3 separate regions of the Homo sapiens genome follow, and regions 1 and 2 are each linked to region 3. Evidence: promoter capture Hi-C in human tissues and cell types (Jung and others, 2019). All regions are on one chromosome and are shown on one strand. The core of a region is centred on a gene start or on the middle of the fragment in contact, and the rest is flanking DNA. Distances in the headings are between cores, read along the strand shown. Region 1 overlaps COQ9 (coenzyme Q9). Region 2 has its middle 16 kb from the start of DOK4. Region 3 holds the start of PLLP (plasmolipin).

Region 1 (3,048 bases), core at 1-2,500, 170 kb after region 3:
AAGATTGACTGGTTTTTTTCCCCCAATAGGGTGGAACTGGCTTTATTTTGTAGTTATAAAGAACATACCATGGAGTTGGTTCTTGGGAGTTGTGTTCTAAAGGCAATCTATTAGGCAAGAATTGTCTGTGATCAAAACTCCCATGTTTCATTGACTCTAAGATGCCATTGGTTGTAAGAAGCATCATTTTTAAATGCATCAGTAAAAAAGAAAACATACTGCCCTTCGAACTATGACAAAGCACTTCTGTGATTCACACTGATTTTTTAAAATGAAAAATATATCTGCATCTTAGAATTAATGACATATGGTGTTTGAAAACCCCCAAGAAGGCACCACTTTGGAGACCAACACATCTTATTTTCCCAGAAACTCTAATAGCATTTTCTGCATTAGTACAGACTGCTGCTTTAGATTAGGCAGCAGGCTCATGTTCAGGCCATGTTGTAGAGAATCCTCCAGCATAGCAAGATACCATCCTCCAAGAGACTGAGGGGATGACAGAGTTGCATCTTCCATCCCAGGCTTGCTGCAGGGCATCTACCCATGGACAATGGGCAAGGTTGCTGCTTTACTGAAATTTAACTGTTATTTCCTTGTCTTCTCTCACTCCCAAGTGCACATTTGGTAACAGAAGTCTCATTAGTGAAATGTGGGTGCTCTGACTCCACTGTAGGCTCATTGTGAAAACTGAACAATACAAACAAATATAAAAAAGAATGTAGAAAACACCTATAATCACACCAAAGATCATACTATCAACATTTATGCCTAGATCTTTCCAATTAAAACCCTTTATATGATTCATTCTTTAAATGTTTATTGAGCAAATAATGTGCCCTAGGCACTGTGCTAGTCCAAGAGACATGACAGGGGTCAAAGTGGTCAAGATGGATCTGCTTCCTGCCCTTGTTGAGCTTCCAGTCTAGCAACATTAATAAAATATATACAAATGTTTACTTAGAAGATGTGGTAAGTGCTATCAAGGAAAGGTGCTGTTGGGCTGTATAATGGAGGGACCCGATCATTAGATCAGGTCACAGCTGCGAGATTGACTGGTTTTTTTCCCTCAATAGGGTGGAAATGGCTTTATTTTGTAGATATAAAAGTAATGAACCATGGAATTGGTTCTTGAGAGTTGTGTTCTAAAGGCAACCTATTGGCAAGAATTGTCTGTGATCAAAACTACCATATTTCATTGACTCTAAGATGCCATTGGTTGTAAGAAGCACCATTTTTAAGTACATCAGTAAAAAAAGAAAACATGTTGCCTGTTAAACTATGACAAATAGTCTAATTTGTCCTATTAAAGGGTTGGAGGGCTGGGCACAGTCGCGCATGCCTATAATCCCAGCACTTTGGGAGGCCAAGGCAGAGGGATTGCTTGAGCCCAGCAGTTTGGGACCAGTCTGGGCAACCTAGGGAGAGACCCCATCTCTACAAAAAATACAAAAATTAGCCAGGCATGGTGGTGCTTGCCTGTGGTCCCAGCTACCTGGGAGGCTGGGGTGGGAGGATCTCTTGAGCCTGGTAGGTCAAGGCTGCAGTGAGCCATAATGATGCCATTGCACTCCAGCCTGGGCAACAGAGTGAGACCTTGTCTGAAACCATATATGAGGTGGGTAACAGGGTGGTCAGGAAAGGCTTTTGAGCTGAGAATTGAAGAATGAATAGGCTTTACCTGACTTTGTGGGTAGGAGATGGACAAGTCCAAATACAGAAACTGCACAGGCAAGGTGGAAAGAAAAAGAAGGATGGTACGTTAGAAGAACCACAGAGAACCACCATGCAGAGAGTGCAGGAAGAGAGATTTGAGATGAGCAAGGCTGGAAAGGTCAGTCGAGGTCAAATCAGGCAAGGTCCTAAAGGTCATGATGAGGAGTCAAGCTTTTCTTCTAAGAACAATTGAAGATATTGGATTAAATTTGGCATTTCAAAATGCTCATTTTGGCTGCCAGATGAAAAGTGGATTGGAGGCAGAGAGAGACTCATTGGGGGCTGCTGCCAGACATACAGGAGAGATGAGGTGGTCTGGCTTAGAGTAATGGCAGTGGGTAAGTTCAGGAATAGCTTGGACATGGGAGAGAGTGACAGGATGGCACCAGAGTTGCAAGTTTGCATGTGTGGGTACCCAATGGTGGTGTTTTCTAAGGTGAAGGCCATTGGAAGAGGACCAGCTTTGGGGAAGGGTACAGTCTTGATCCTTGTTGAGTATGAGGAGTTTTTGAGTCAACCAGTGGAGGCATCAAGCATACAGGTCAGGAACTGGAGGAAACAGCTGGACTAGAGATACACATTTGGGCATATATATATATATATACAGTATATATATGCACGCTGATTTTATATATATATATATATATAAAATAATTATGGAAGTCAGTGAGATTGTCCAGGGCAAGAATATAATGTCATATGAGAGGGGAGTCCAGACTCTCAAGGAACGCGGACATTTAAGGGGAGAGTAGAATAGGATGGGCCGTCAAAGTCTAAGTCAGAGCATCCTGATGTTGGAGGCAAAGCAGGAGAGTGTGGATTAAGCAGCTAGACATTGGTTACTGGGGCAACAACCGTTTGGGTGGAGAACTGGATCAGAAATCAACTGGAGTGGATCGAGGTGTGCATAGAAGGCGAGGAAGTGGCGAGGCGTTTGGCTGCGAGGGGTAGAACTAGGGTGCACCAAGCAGGAGAAACAGATGGAAGTTTGGACATGATTGAACACAAATGGGAAGAGTACAGAAACAAGAGTGGACCAGGCTCATATGTGTAATCCCAGCACTTGGGGAGGCTGAGGCGGGAGGATTGCTTGACACTAGGAGTTTGAGGCCAACCTGGGCAATATGGCGAGACCCCATCTCTACAAAAACATTTAAAAATTAGCCAGATGCGGTGGCGCATACCTGTGGTCCCAGGCTAAGATGGGACGATTGCTTGAGCCCAGGAGGTCAAGGCCTCAGTCATGCCACTGCTTGAGTGACAGAGCAAGACACTGTCTCAAAAAAAAAGTAAAAAGAAAAAAGAAAGAAACAAGAGTGAGGGTGAATTTAC
Region 2 (3,608 bases), core at 210-2,709, 220 kb after region 3:
GCGAAGGGAGGCCAAGTGCTTGGGCCAGCCTCCTCTCCCTCCCTGATTCATTGATCCACTCAGCAAACATCTGAGCACCTACTCTGTGCCAGGCACTGGGCACTGGGGACACAGTGTTCCACAGGAAGAGTCCATGGCCTTGAGGAGTTCACGGTGTAGTGCAAGTGACCAGCAAGTGCAACTGTGAGAAGGGCAGAGGGAGTGGAAACAGCTATAGGGTGCTAGAAGAGATACGGGGGCCAGGCACAGTGGCTCATGCCAACACTTTGGGAGGTCAAGGTGGGAAGATCACTTGAGGCTGTGAGTTCGAGACCAGCCTGGGCAACATAATGAGACCCAGTCTGTACAAGGAAATATAAAAAAACTAACCAGGCATGGTGGCATGTGCTTGTAGCCCCAGCTACTTGGTAGGCTGAGGCAGGAAAATCACTTGAGCCCAGGAAGTCAAGGCTGCAGTGAATCAAGATCATGCTACTGCACTCCACCCTGGGCAACAGAGAGAGACCCTATCTCTAAACACAAAAAACAAAAGACAGAGATACAGGGAGACCTGATTTGTCTGGGAAGGCTTCCTAAGGAAGGGACCCTTAAGGTGAAAGTGAAAGGATTAGTTAACTTGGTGAAGAAGAGAGGGAGAGTGTTCTGGGTAGAGGGAACTGCACGTGTAAAGGCCCCTTGGCAGAAGAGACCCTGGCCTGGAGATGGGCTTGGGAGGAGGCCAGGGTGGCTGAGTGCAGTGAGGAGGGGAAGTGCGTGCTTGGAGAGGCCAGACACAGGGTCTTGAAGGCCAGTCCCAGGGTTCCAGCTCTATCTTAAGAGTAACAGGGAGCCAGTCAAGGGTTTTACACGAAGCAGGAGATAAGATCCAATTGACTTTTTTTTTTTTTTTTTAAATGGAGTATCACTCTGTCGCCCAGGCTGGAGTGCCGTGGCGCGACCTTGGGTCACTGCAACCTCTGCCTCCTGGGTTCAAGCAATTCTGCCTCAGCCTCCTGAGTAGCTGGGATTATAGGCGCATGCCACCATGCCTGGCTAATTTGTGTATTTTTTTAGTAGAGATGGGGTTTCACCATGTCGGCCAGGGTGGTCTTGAGCTCCTGACCTCAAGTGATCCACCTGCCTCAGCCTCCCAAAGTGCTGGGATTATAGGCATGAGCCACCGCGCCCGGCCCCAGTTTATATTTTGAGAAAGAATCCCTCTGGCTGTCCTTAGAGAGCATATGGAGGGGGCCTAGTGGAACTGGGGGAGCAAGACAGGAAGCAAGAGCAAGTCTCGAAGGAGAGAGGTGGTGAGTAGTGAGAGGGTTGGTGGCTCTGAAGAGGTCTGAGAGATCTTCAGAATGGCAAGTGTCCCTGACTCCTTGGTGATTGGCTACTGGAAGCCAGGACACTCAAGGATAAGAAGGAAGAAAAACAATGACCCTGAGACGAACACTATGGTCTCAGTGCCTCCACAGATATAGACAGAAAACCAAGCCCACGTTGGATGCTTTTTTCCAAAACTGATTTTTCACTCACTCCCTCTTCTTTCGCAGGAAAAGGTGAATTTTACCAACAGTCTCCGACATACCCCTGGAGAAACACACTGTCATTTATTTAACCAGTACCTGACTGCGGCCATTTAGCTGTCTCTATTTTTGCTTTTGTAAACAATGCCACAATGAGCACTCGTGTGGCTAAATATTTGCGCCTGCACTTACAGATGATGTGTGCTTACAGACTTCCTTAGGAGAGATTTCTCAAAGTGAACTGTTTCAGCTGCATTTTGCCAGCCTGCCCTGTTCCCATCTGAGGGTGGGCATCGATGGAGGAAATCTTCTGATGCCCATAAGGTCAAAGCTGTCTTACCTTTAATATTCAGTACCTGAAAAAAAAAAAAACCCTTCCAAGACCAATATGTTGACCAAAGGCTACTAGGAATTCCCCAGATGATTCAAATTAATTTGTTCCTCCTCTGCTATGAGGACTCCAAACTTCCACTTGACAAGAGTCACAATTGTTTGGGTGAAACATTATTTGCTCAGTCCACAGATGAGACTTGCTGAACATATGGGTTTGGGGACCCCCCTGCCATACCCTTAAGTCCCCTCCCCAGGGTCTGAGACTTAGCGATGCGTGGAGAAGTCATTCCCCACAAACTTGCGCATCCCCTGAAGGGCATCTGCACTGAGCAGCTGGGAGGACCTGGGTAAGGTGAAGACGGAAGGTGTGGGGATTAGGTCAACCCTCTGCAGGGACAGTCCATGGCCTAAAGGTATAGGCATTACCCTGGGGATGCACCTTGCGGCCATTTCCTGAAGCAGCATTGTCCTGTGGCAGCAAGACTGGCCACATCATTTTTGGGGCCCAGTACAAAAAGAATATGTGCCCTGCCGACAAATTATTAATAAATTGCCGAGGGGTGACAATAGAGCATTAAACCAAGCCCTGGGCCCTCGGAAGTGTAGGGCCCAAAGTGACAGCACAGGCTGCCCGCACAACCGTGAAGCTGGCCTTCTTGGCAAGTCTCTTCCTCCCAGAAAAGAGGTCTTGCAGGCGTGGAGCAGCAGAGAGGAGGTAAGCGTGGGAGGCCAGCTCGGGGAGCAGCCCAGCCCAGCCATGGCTCACTGCCGGGTAGCCGGAGAGCCTCTGGGGCCTCCTTGAGGCTGCCTGTCAGGCTGATGGAGTGGATAGATGCGGTAGAAGCAGATGGGGCCGGTGACCTGGCAGACAGGTGCGCGCATAACACCTCTGCAGCCACAAAGCCGTGCAAGCCCAGCATGTGGGAGGGACTGGCGTGGCAAGGATTTGCTGCCTGCGGAGCGGGAGAAGAAAGCTGAGATTAACAACAGTGAGAGCAACAGAAGCTCTTCCTGCACACTCATGGGTGCCAGGTGCTGTGCTTGGCCTGAAGAGCCATCCCTTGAGACTGGAGCCACTGTTACCCCCACTGAGGCCCAGAGGGGAGAAGTGGCAGCATCTAGAAATCCTGAGTCCTCTTCTCTGTTCTTCCTTGTCCACCTCCAGCCCTGTCCTGCAAGGGACCAATGCCTGGAGTGGATGGGGAACTGGCCACCAGTGGCAAGGGAGAAACCCAGGAGTCCCACCTCCCAGAATGGGGCTTTGCCTCGATGTTGGGGGACCTGTTGCCCCAGTCCCTTGTTGAGCCTCCACCTTCTCCTCCCTTTACGAAGCCTGTCCCTTGGGACTGAGGGCAGAGGGGTGTGTGTGTGTGTGTGTGTGTATGTGTGTGTGTGTCCTGGATGCATAGGAGCTTCCCCTCCTTCCTCAAGGGAGTCAGCCCCCCCACTGCCAGGACCCACAGCCAAGGCCAGCTCCATGGCCAGACCCCAGATGTTCCTTCCTGGCGCCTCTGTTACTGTTTTTGAATCAGCCGTGCGGTAGCCCCTCCACCCTATCTGGGTTTGATCGTCCATAAAAAAATTAATGGTCCCTGCAAATAAAGAAGCACAACAACAGAGGAAGGCTTTTTAGACAATCAATTAAAAGCCTAGGAGAGGGATTATCTCATTGAAATATCAATTTTTAATAGCACTGCATCTTTGAATTTCCTCTCAAAAAACTTTGCACAGTGCATTTGCCTGACTTGGTTTCTCTCTCCAGCTCTT
Region 3 (3,356 bases), core at 185-2,684:
AACCCGCCAGGAGATTCAGAGGTTGGGGAGGGGGCCCACAGAGATCTGAGAAATCCTGAAATGAGATAGCACTGACCCAGGTAGAGGTGGGCCCGCACCTGGAGAGGTCAGGGAAGGGAGACTGGACCTCAGCCCAGGGTCTGGCACCAAAGCAACCACCCTGCCCTCTAGCTTGGGCCTCGCAGCAGCGCTAGCACCCAGCAATAGGAGACAATGGGAAATGTCCACTCGCTGGATTGCTAAGAAATACAGGTCCTGGCCCAACTCCAATTCCACCTGAGTCCTCTGAAAATGTATCAGGCCCTCACCCACCCAGGGCACCCACCCAGCTTCCAGACCCTCACGAAAGGGTGGCAGAGGAAGAAGCTAACATCCGGGCCTGTGGCTGGTGTGGGAGTGGAGGATGTTCCCATGGGTCCGCCTCAGTTGGGGTCTGTACAGGGGTCTGGGAGAGAGTAGGAGTCTTGCCCCTGGCTACCCACAAACCCCTCCCTCCAGCGATATCTCGGTCCCGTGGGGCTGGCTAAACCGGCTGAAACCTGGCGGGTCACCCAGAGAAAGCTAGAAGAGCCCGGCTCCCGCGCGGGCGCCCACAGGGTAGTGCCTGAGTGTGCGTGTTGGGGAGTCGGATGTGCCCTCTAGATTAGATGAGGAATGTTCATGGGTGCGGCCACCCGGAGCCGCTGGGAGCGGGACAGAAGGTGGTCAGAGAGTGGACTTTGCCTCAGACTGGGTTCCCTAGAGGGCTGGGGGCACTGTCCGGGCAGAAAGAGGGGTGAAAAAGAGAGAGGAGGGAAGGGAGGGCTGGGAAGGGTTGGCGGGTTGTGCGCAGTGACTGTGGCTCCGGTGGGGGCTTCTGTGGCCGCTGGTAACCACCTTGGAGGGGGCACGATGGGGCACGGGCAGTGGGCACTCTGTACACGGTGCAGGGTGCTCACGCTCGCAGCGACGGCCACGGGGTAGTGTCGTGGTGAGAGGGATGCAGGGCGATCTTGGGGGCGTCCGTGCGGGAAGCGCCCTAGGGGTACGCGCAGCGCGTCGGTGACAGTGTGAGCCCGGGTGGGGAGCGCAAGGTTCGCGAAAAATGAACGCAGCGCCGGAGTCCCTCACCCATCCTGGCCGGACCGGGAGCCCCCGGCCAACCCCGTGGGCCCGCGCGTGCTCTCACCAGCTGCAGCAGCATGAGCGCCCCGAGGCGGGAGCGCACGAAGCCCAGGTCCGGGCGCAGCGCCGACACCGAGGCTTCGGCGCCCTGCGCAGGACTGCTGGTCCGCGTGCTAACTTTCGACGGGAACTCGGCCATGGCGGCTCCGCTTGCCTCCCGAGGTCGCTACGGCCGCCGTCGCCGCCCCTCCAGCGGTGGGTGCCGGCTCCCGCGCCGCTTTTCCCCCAGGCTCCGGATCCCTGTGTGGCTCCAGGCGCTGCAGGAGGCGTCGGGGCTGGGAGCCTGGGGCGCCAGGTGCGGCCGAGATCCCGGCTCCGCCCCCGCCGCCGGGGCCGCCCCCTTAACCCTTTGCTCGCCGCCGCCGCCCCAGCCGCGACCGGTTCGTGGGCAGCCGCGTCCACTCCCCGGACCAGTAAACAACCCCGGGTCCGTGAATCGGCTCCGCCAGCACCAGCCTAGACCGCTTCGCCGGCCTCCCCCGGGGCAAGCCGCCCGCTGGGAATTTCCCGGCTCTCGCCCAGGCCGTGGTAGCTTCCGCGCCTAGGGATAAACTTGTGGTAGCTCGCGGGGGACACCGCTCTCCCAGGCGCTTTCTACGCGCTGTGCACCCTCGGCCTAGGCCCCGGCGCAGCGACTCTTGAAGAGTCCCGGGAGAAGGCTGGATGCGGTGGCTCCTGCCTCTGATCGCAGCACTTTGGGAGGCTAAGGTGAAAGGATAATTTCAGGCCAAGAGTTCGAGACCAGCCTGGGTAACACAGTGAGACGCCCCCCCTCCCCCCGTCTGTATTTTATAGAAAAGAAAGTAAAGAAGAATCCTGGGAGACCCAGCGCGGGGAAGGGGAGGGTCTGGGTAAGCGGTGGGTAAGCGGTAGAAGGGGGAGGTCCTTTTCTGCCTATTAATGCTGTTTTCACTTCTGAACATATTTTATATAACTTAGATGATCGCGGAGCCTCAGTTTCCTCGTCTGTCATATAGATACGAAGGAAACCTGCCTCACAGAGCGTTGTAGGGAATAAATGAAATATTCCCCAGAAAGCTCCTGACAGCGTGAGGGAGGAGGGGTCACTCAGAAGATGGGAGGTCATATACAGTTTCATTGCCACACATGCACCCTAAAATACTTACACACACACACACACCTCTTGAGCCTAGAGGTTTGCACAGATAGGTCATCATGCATTCATCAACCAATGTTTGCTGAACACCTACTACATGCCAGGCCCTGTGGATACAGCAGGAAACGAAGTAGACAAGGCCTTCTTGGCTCCCACATTTTTTTTTTCCCAAATACCCACTTAAAAAGAGAGCCACTTAAAAAATTGTTTTTAACTGACATGTAATATTAGGTTGGTGCAAAAGTTATACGGTTTTTGCATATAAAAGTATAGCAAAAACCGCAATTACTTTTTCGGCAACCTATAATTGTACCTAAATATGGGGTACCATGTGATGTTTTGGTACCTGTGTACGTTGTGTAAAAAAATCAAATCAAGGTACTTAGCATATCCATCACCTCATACATTTATGGCTTCTTTGGGGTGAGAACATTCAAAATCCCCACTTCTAGCTACCATATTTTGAAATATACAATATTAGGGCCAGGCGCTGTGGCTCACGCCTATAATCCCAGCACTTTGGGAGGCCAAGGCAGGCAGATCACCAGAGGTCATGAGTTTGAGACCAGCCTGGTCAACATGGCAAAACCCTGTCTCTACAAAAATACAAAAAAATTAGCCAGGCATGATGGTGGGTGCCTGTAGTCCCAGCTACACAGGAGGCTGAGACAGGAGAATCACTCGAACCCAGGGAGGCAGAGGTTGCAGTGAGCTGAAATCATGCCACTGCACTCCAGCCTGGGTGACAGAGCCAGACTCCATCTAAAAACAAAAACAAAAAAAGAAAAGAAATGTACAATATTGGTATTTTTTTCTTTTTACTTTTATTTATTTTGAGGCGAGGTCCCACTCTGTCACCCAGGCTGGAGGGCAGTGGCATGATCATAGCCTACTGCAGCCTCCAACCCCTAGGCTCAAGTGATCTTCTCACCTCAGCCTCCCTAGTAGCTAGGACTACAGGTGCACGCCACCATGCCCAACTAATTTTTTTTTTTTTTTGAGATGGAGTCTTGCTGGAATTACAGGCTCGAGCCACCATGCCCAGCTAATTTTTTGTATCTGTAATAGAGACTGG

What was found. Contacts are between HindIII fragments. The study calls those that stand out against the background at their distance.
Region 1: a contact is called between a fragment that was not itself captured here and the fragment with the promoter of PLLP in region 3, in 5 of the 25 tissues and cell types used here (dorsolateral prefrontal cortex, hippocampus, mesenchymal stem cells and 2 more).
Region 2: a contact is called between a fragment that was not itself captured here and the fragment with the promoter of PLLP in region 3, in 1 of the 25 tissues and cell types used here (bladder).

Annotation. Positions count from the first base shown.
Region 1 is chr16:57,453,054-57,456,101 of GRCh38, forward strand. All of the region lies in intron 3 of COQ9 (coenzyme Q9), which reads left to right. Among named protein-coding and RNA genes, the nearest start is that of COQ9, 7.1 kb to the left of the region's middle. The HindIII fragment of the contact is 7,285 bases long and covers 1-3,048 here.
Region 2 is chr16:57,500,918-57,504,525 of GRCh38, forward strand. No RefSeq gene overlaps it. Among named protein-coding and RNA genes, the nearest start is that of DOK4, 16 kb to the left of the region's middle. The HindIII fragment of the contact is 9,526 bases long and covers 1-3,608 here.
Region 3 is chr16:57,283,238-57,286,593 of GRCh38, forward strand. It overlaps PLLP (plasmolipin), which reads right to left and starts at 1,435. Exons shown (of 4, transcript NM_015993.3): 1 at 1,169-1,435. The coding sequence starts at 1,303. RefSeq lists an enhancer at 513-1,174 and a silencer at 1,219-1,628. The HindIII fragment of the contact is 17,750 bases long and covers 1-3,356 here.